Regions from separate parts of the Homo sapiens genome. Here region 1 is linked to region 2. Evidence: promoter capture Hi-C in human tissues and cell types (Jung and others, 2019). All regions are on one chromosome and are shown on one strand. The core of a region is centred on a gene start or on the middle of the fragment in contact, and the rest is flanking DNA. Distances in the headings are between cores, read along the strand shown.

What was found. The method cuts DNA at HindIII sites, captures the fragments that hold promoters and counts their contacts. A contact is called where the count stands out against the background at its distance.
Region 1: the fragment with the promoter of SLC16A11 here is called in contact with the fragment with the promoter of DERL2 in region 2 in 1 of the 25 tissues and cell types used here (small bowel).

What each region holds. Positions count from the first base shown.
Region 1 is chr17:7,042,842-7,046,405 of GRCh38, reverse strand. SLC16A11 (solute carrier family 16 member 11) reads left to right here and starts at 2,314. Exons shown (of 5, transcript NM_001370549.1): 1 at 2,314-2,631; 2 at 2,887-3,094; 3 at 3,333-3,476. The coding sequence starts at 2,893. It overlaps LOC124903909 (a long non-coding RNA gene), which reads right to left and starts at 3,339. Exons shown (of 2, transcript XR_007065598.1): 1 at 3,166-3,339; 2 at 1-224. RefSeq lists silencers at 2,708-2,837, 2,908-2,967. The HindIII fragment of the contact is 14,065 bases long and covers 1-3,564 here.
Region 2 is chr17:5,484,619-5,487,743 of GRCh38, reverse strand. DERL2 (derlin 2) reads left to right here and starts at 1,566. Exons shown (of 7, transcript NM_016041.5): 1 at 1,566-1,675; 2 at 2,528-2,593. The coding sequence starts at 1,583. MIS12 (MIS12 kinetochore complex component) reads right to left here and starts at 1,178. Exons shown (of 3, transcript NM_001258217.2): 1 at 1,060-1,178. RefSeq lists enhancers at 559-668, 909-1,008, 1,629-1,688, 1,729-1,908 and silencers at 1,182-1,349, 1,299-1,458. The HindIII fragment of the contact is 19,817 bases long and covers 1-3,125 here.

The DNA.
Region 1 (3,564 bases), core at 1,065-3,564, 1.6 Mb before region 2:
CCTCCCCGGTAGCTGAGGACCTGCTGGCTCCGCCTCCCTGGTGGCTTTCATAACAGCACTCCAGGCTGGGGAAACCGGTGGGGCCACTTTCCTAAGGTGTGTCTGTCAGGACCTTCATGAACAACAGGACGTTTCAAGCAGAGAGCATGACATATGCAAAAATTAAGGAGTGAGAAAAAGCTAGGCATGTCCACAGAGCAGAGAAGACAGTGGCTGATGGGAGGCTGGCAAAAGGGAGAGAGGGGAGATGGTTTGGAACGGTAACCTAGGTCTACCTTTGATTATTGTAAAAGACCTGTACAAATAGAGAAATGTAATTTTTCCCGTCTATAGGCAATGGAGAGCCATTGCCTATAGTCATGCTGTGTCTTTTATGTTTACAGTTTTGCTCCTTAAGAAGCTGTTTTTCTTGTCTTTACGTGCAGATTCTTTCCCAATAATTAGGAAACACTGCCATCATGTGGCTCAATGGATGCATGCTCCAAACTTAAGTTGCTGAATGTTCTATCATATTGTTTAATAATTAAACCAAAGAACACATCTCTGAATTCAAAGAGCTGAGGTAAAGAATGTCAACCTATCAAAAAAGGACATTTTCTATAAAGTTTTTCAAAAAATCAATACCTGGCTTCAATGACCTGATTTTTTACTTTGCTTTTAAAATTGTAACCTGGCCAGGCATGGTAGACTGTAATCCCAGCACTTTGGGAGTCCGAGGTGGAAGGATTGCTTAAGTCCAGGAGCTTGAGACCAGCCTGTGCAACATGCTGTGACCCCCTCTCTACAAAAAAAATGAACAAATTTAGCCAGGCATGGTGGTGTGGAGCCTGTAGTCCTCGCTACTCGGGAGGCTGAGGTGGAGTATTGCTTGAGCCTGGGAGGTGGAGGCTGCAGTGAGCCATAATGGCAGTACTACACTTCAGCCTGGACAAGACCCTGTCTCTATAAATAAATACACACACACATACATACATACATACATACATACATACATACATACATACATAATAAAAAATAAAATTCTAACCTAAGTGTTTAGAGATTCTGATCTCAAGAATCCTTTCTATTCCCAGTGACCCCTTATTTTAGACTCATAAGTTTTCTGTCCCTGCAATGGTTCCACCCTTTCCAGGGCAGTTTGCTTCAAGCTGTATCCAGGATCTTTCCCTTAACTGTGCCAGATTTTGTTTCAGTCCTGGGATTGTTCTCCTTGTAGGTCCACAGTTGGACAGACCTAAATTCAAATATCCATACCATTTTTTCCCTGAGAGCTTCAGTTACTGCATCTATAAAAGAGGCACGACATCGGCCAGGCGCGTTGGCTCACTCCTGTAATCCCAGCACTTTGGGAGGCCGAGGTGGGCGGATCATCTGAGGTCAGGAGTTCCAGACCAGCCTGGCCAACATGGCGAAACCCCATCTCTACTAAAAAATACAAAAATTAGCTGGGAGTGGTGGCAGGCGCCCGTAATCCCAGCTACTCAGGAGGCTGAGGCAGGAGAATGGCTTGAACTTAGGAGGCAGAGGTTGCAATGAGCCGAGATCTCGCCACTGTACTCCAGCCTGGGCTACAGAGTGAAACTCCATCTAAAAAAAAAAAAAAAGAAAAGCGACACCTTCTTCATAGGGTTATCATAAGATGAAGTGATAGCATGTGTAAACGGTGCCTGGTACACTGCAGGTCTTCACATTGAGGGAGTCGTGTTTCATCCCTCTGTCCTTGAGGACCTGTTATTTTATTTTATTTATTTTATTTTTGTTTATTTATTTATTTTTGAGACAGAGTCTTTCTCTGTCACCCAGGCTGGAGTGCAGTGGCATGATCTTGGCTCACTGCAACTTCTGCCTCCCGGGTTCAAGCGATTCCCCGCCTCAGCCTCCCAAGTAGCTGGGACTACAGGCGCCCGCCACCACACCCGGCTAATTTTTTTTGTATTTTTAGTAGATATGGTGTTTCGCCATGTTGGTCAGGCTGGCCTCGAACTCCTGACGTCAGGTGATTCACCCACATCGGCCTCCCAAAGTGCTGGGATTACAGGCTTGCACCGCGCCCGGCCTGGGGGTCTGTTATTCTAAGCACAGAGCTGGCACTTGGTGGAGGTCTGTGATCTGATTGATATCCGAGATTTACCTGGTCCTCGGCAACGTTCCTGAGAACAAAACTACTCATCCCCTCAGGTTTTGGGGACCATCCCTATTTCCACGCGTTGGCGGTGGACCCTGGGCTCGCTGGGGTTTGCAATCCACGTGTCTCCCCTGCGCGCAGCAGGCGGCAGGTGCATGCGTGTGAGTAGGGCAGGGCCCCTCTGCATTCATTTCTCGCCGCTCCCCCCTCCCCCGGGCCTGGGGGTTGTGTGTGTACATAATTCAATCCCCGTGGGACTGGCGTCTGGCCTCACGCGCGGCTTGCCGGATTGGCTGTTTCAGCTCGCCCCCGCCCTCCGTACACCCCGCGTCCCAGGTGGCTCAGGCCCCTGTGGTGATCTCTGTTTACCGAGAGAGCCCGTCCAAGTTGGGCTCCATCGCTGCCCTCGCTCCCCTTCGGGGCCCCCGCCCGCCTGGGAAGCAGAGAGAAAGCCGGGCCCAGCCCTTCCTCACCCTTCCCCTCCCCGCACCGCCCGGAGAGGTCGGGTAAGGGGGAAGGAGTGTGCGTGGGACGGGGAACCTCGGGCCTGGGGATCTGGCTGTCCCCGTCCCCGTACCTCGCGCGGACCCGGGAGTTCCAGCCCTAGGCCAGGCTCCGGCTCCCTCCGCCCCGCGCCATCGCGCTCGGAGTGACGGGCCCACCCCGGGCGAGCAGCCAGAGGCTGGATCTCAGGGATGCCAGCTCCCCAGCGGAAGCACAGGCGTGGAGGCTTCTCTCACAGATGTTTCCCCACCCCGCAGACGGCGATGACCCCCCAGCCCGCCGGACCCCCGGATGGGGGCTGGGGCTGGGTGGTGGCGGCCGCAGCCTTCGCGATAAACGGGCTGTCCTACGGGCTGCTGCGCTCGCTGGGCCTTGCCTTCCCTGACCTTGCCGAGCACTTTGACCGAAGCGCCCAGGACACTGCGTGGATCAGCGCCCTGGCCCTGGCCGTGCAGCAGGCAGCCAGTGAGGGGGGCCCTGAGGCGGGAGACAGGAACGGGGAGGAGGAGCCGTGAGTGGAGGGATGGGAGACCCACCTGATTACCCGACAACCTGAGAAAGGGCAACCGGCTCTAGAAAAGAGTGCATCTTGAGGTCAAGGAGAAGAACCATTAGTTCGAGGGAGGCAAACAGCCAATGAGAAGTGTTGGAGAGAGTTTGGGGGCCCGGGGGCGTGTCTTCCGTTGACTCCGCCCCCTTTCAGGCCCCGTGGGCAGCGCCCTGAGCACGCGCTGGGGGGCCCGCCCCGTGGTGATGGTTGGGGGCGTCCTCGCCTCGCTGGGCTTCGTCTTCTCGGCTTTCGCCAGCGATCTGCTGCATCTCTACCTCGGCCTGGGCCTCCTCGCTGGTGAGGGAAGTGGGATGCCCGGGTCATTCAGGGTGAAGGAGGTGACAGGAGCTTGTTGGGATCTGGGGTAGCGAACGAGGCGGGGGCC
Region 2 (3,125 bases), core at 317-2,816:
CCTGGCCAACATGGCGAAACCCTATCTCTCCTAGAAATACAAAAATTACCCAGGCGTGATGGTGGATACTTGCAATCCCAGCTACTCGGGAGGCTGAGGCAGGAGAATCACTGGAACCCGAGAGGCGAAGGTTGCGGTGAGCCGAGATTGTGCCACTGCACCCCAGCCTGGGCAACAGAGCGAGACTCTGTCTCAAAAAATAAAATAAAATAAAAATTTACGTTTGTAATGGTTAAATATGGAGTGGTTATAACTGTTTGGCTGTATATGTAAGGTAGGATTTCTTTCTGTTTTTCTTTTTTTCTTTTGAGACATGTTGTCGCTCTGTCGCCCAGGCTGGAATGCAGTGGCACGATCACAGATCACTGCAGCCTCAACCTCCCGCGCCCAAGCAATCCTCCCACCTCAGTCTCCCAAGTAGCCGGGACAACAGGTGCAGGCCACCATGCCTGGCTAATTTTCTTGTTGTTGTTGTTGTTTGAGACAAAGTGTCACTCTTTCGCCCAGGCTGGAGTACAGTGGTATGATCTCGGCTCGCTACAACCTCTGCCTCCTAAGTTCAAGTGATCCTCTTAGCTCAGCCTCCCAAGTAGCTGGGATTACAGGTGGGCGCCATCTCAAACAACAACAAAAAAATACACTTCCTTGATTAACTCCTTTCTTCGAATTCCCATTAGGACCTCTCTTCGGGCACTGACTGATGAACTTCTACCGCCTCATCTTCTCTGCTAGACTTAGAGTTCCTGAGAGCAGAATAAATGCGGCTTGATCAGTATTTGCCGATTCAACGCAGAGGTGCCCAGGTCATCTCGGCGAGTTGAGCTGTCTAAGACCCCGCGATCGCGCAGGACAGGACCCAGAAGCCAGAGCGCAGGAACTGCTTCCGGCCGGCTCCCGGCTTCCGTCGGGCCCCGCGCCCGCGCTGCATGCTGGGATCTTCAGGTCGGAGGCCGGGGTGAGGCCGACCCACAGGCCGCCTTGCTCCCTCGCGAAGACGCTTATGCCAGTCTCGCCCGTCCCCGCTCCTCCTCAGAGAAAATGCTGCCCCGCAGCACTTACCGGAGCGACCATGAGGGTGACGATTTGAAGCACACACAGGCTTCCCGCCACCTCCTTTAAACCGCCGCTGGCTTGCCAGGGACAGACGGCGCGGTTGGCTCCCCAAAATTCCGACTGATACGCGCCTCGGCGAGCGAAAGCAAACGCGGGATACTCTCGCGTTCCTGATTGGCTGGTTGTGGACACCTCAATTATGACAGAAAGGGGCCGGGCGGGAAAGTTAGCTGTGGCCGGCGGGGATTGGCAGAAGGAACCTGTACTTACTCGTTTTTCCCGGACGTTGGCTGGTGGAGAAGAGAGGGTGGGGAGATGGGGCGCTGGGGGGGGGCGGTGGCGACGCAACTCGTGATTGGCGGATGTGCGTTCCTTAGGTCTCTACGGATTGCGGTTGCTTGGCGTTGATTGGGCAGTCGCGGGAAAACTAAAGTGGGCGGGGGGCCTTTGGGCCCGCCCCGCCGCCGGGGCCTGCTGGCGGAAGGGGAAATGGGGTGGGTGGGGGGTGGGGCAGGCGACGGTGGGGAAGATGGCGTACCAGAGCTTGCGGCTGGAGTACCTGCAGATCCCACCGGTCAGCCGCGCCTACACCACTGCCTGCGTCCTCACCACCGCCGCCGTGGTGAGCAGCTGCAGTGCCACCTTCTCATTATCTGGGCTGGATATGACTGGGTCTTCAGGAAACTGGGGTTTGGGCCTCGGGGAGGCCCAGAGGGGCTGGTCCCGGGGATGGGTGGAGGCGTACAGGGATTACTCTGGGGTTCGAGTTGGCGCCAAGAATGCTTATCCAGTGACGCGAGAAGGGAGTGCTGCTTCATGGGGGGTCAGGTCAGTTTCTAAGAGATGAGCGCCGGACCTATAGCGGGTTAGGGTTGCGGGAGCCTCCCACCCAAGAAATGTGTCCGAGAGCTCTGCCAATGGCCAGGTGGTACCATGGTGACTAGTGAGAGGAAGGTCCGTTTAGTGAAGAAACAGGAATGGGGAAAGCAAGCTGGAAACTGTCGAGAGGGGAATGGCTTATAATAAAAAGGGTCTCTGGATCTAAATAAGGGGCTAGCTGGAGGTACCCAGCCCTAACGGTGGCAGGGTCTCCAGTCTCCGTTATTTCAAGTGAGTTTTGTTGTTTCATACAGCTGTTTCAGGTGGTGCCCATGTGGTGGGTAGATTCATAGCAGCTGTTTTTATTTGTCCTGTGTCTAAAATATCACCACCTGTCTGCCTCATTTCTTCATGTCAGCCTCAACTATTGCAACATAAAACAGACTTTTTTGTGTTAGGTATTGAGGATACAAAGAATTCTACCAATCCTAGAGAATTCTTTACCAACCTCTTCCTCTGGCCTAAGAAGAAAGGCTTAAAGGAAATCACGTCTAAGTGACCGAGAGTTGGAAATTGCTAGACCTACTAATTCTTTGTTGTAAATGATGAAATTTTGTTTCTTGATTTGCTTTAAGAAGCTCTTTTTCTATTTCAGCAGTTGGAATTGATCACACCTTTTCAGTTGTACTTCAATCCTGAATTAATCTTTAAACACTTTCAAGTAAGTGGTTCATCACAATAGTGATTAATGCTTCAGTTTCTTCTTTTTCTTACTGTTTAGTAGCAAATCCTGTTATACACTATCCTAAAAAAGAACCCAGTGGGGACCTTTGATTATAAGTTGCCTTGTCAGGATATAAAGCAGTGATTCTGCAGCCTGGTTGGACTTGAGAATCCCTTAGGGAACTTTGAAGAGATTCTCAAGCTCCTCAACAAGTACCAAATCAGAATTTGCAAGGGTAGGAATTAAAATCTGTGTTTTATTTTTAAAGTTCCCTGCATCGTTTTGATGTGTCCAGTTCCTGTATTTGGAAATCACTGGTTTAGACTTAACGTTGTCCTATGAGAGGAGGCTGACTAGCTAGCTGCTTAGGGGTTGTCTCACAGGGATGGCCTTATTTTGTCCATTCAGCACCTAGGCACACCCACCACCTTGGTGTTATCACCATGGTCCAGAAACTCAATTCTGTTAGTGCTTTTAAATTGTGATCTGTCTTCCAGGGATCAGATCATACTAACCAAATTCCAAACAT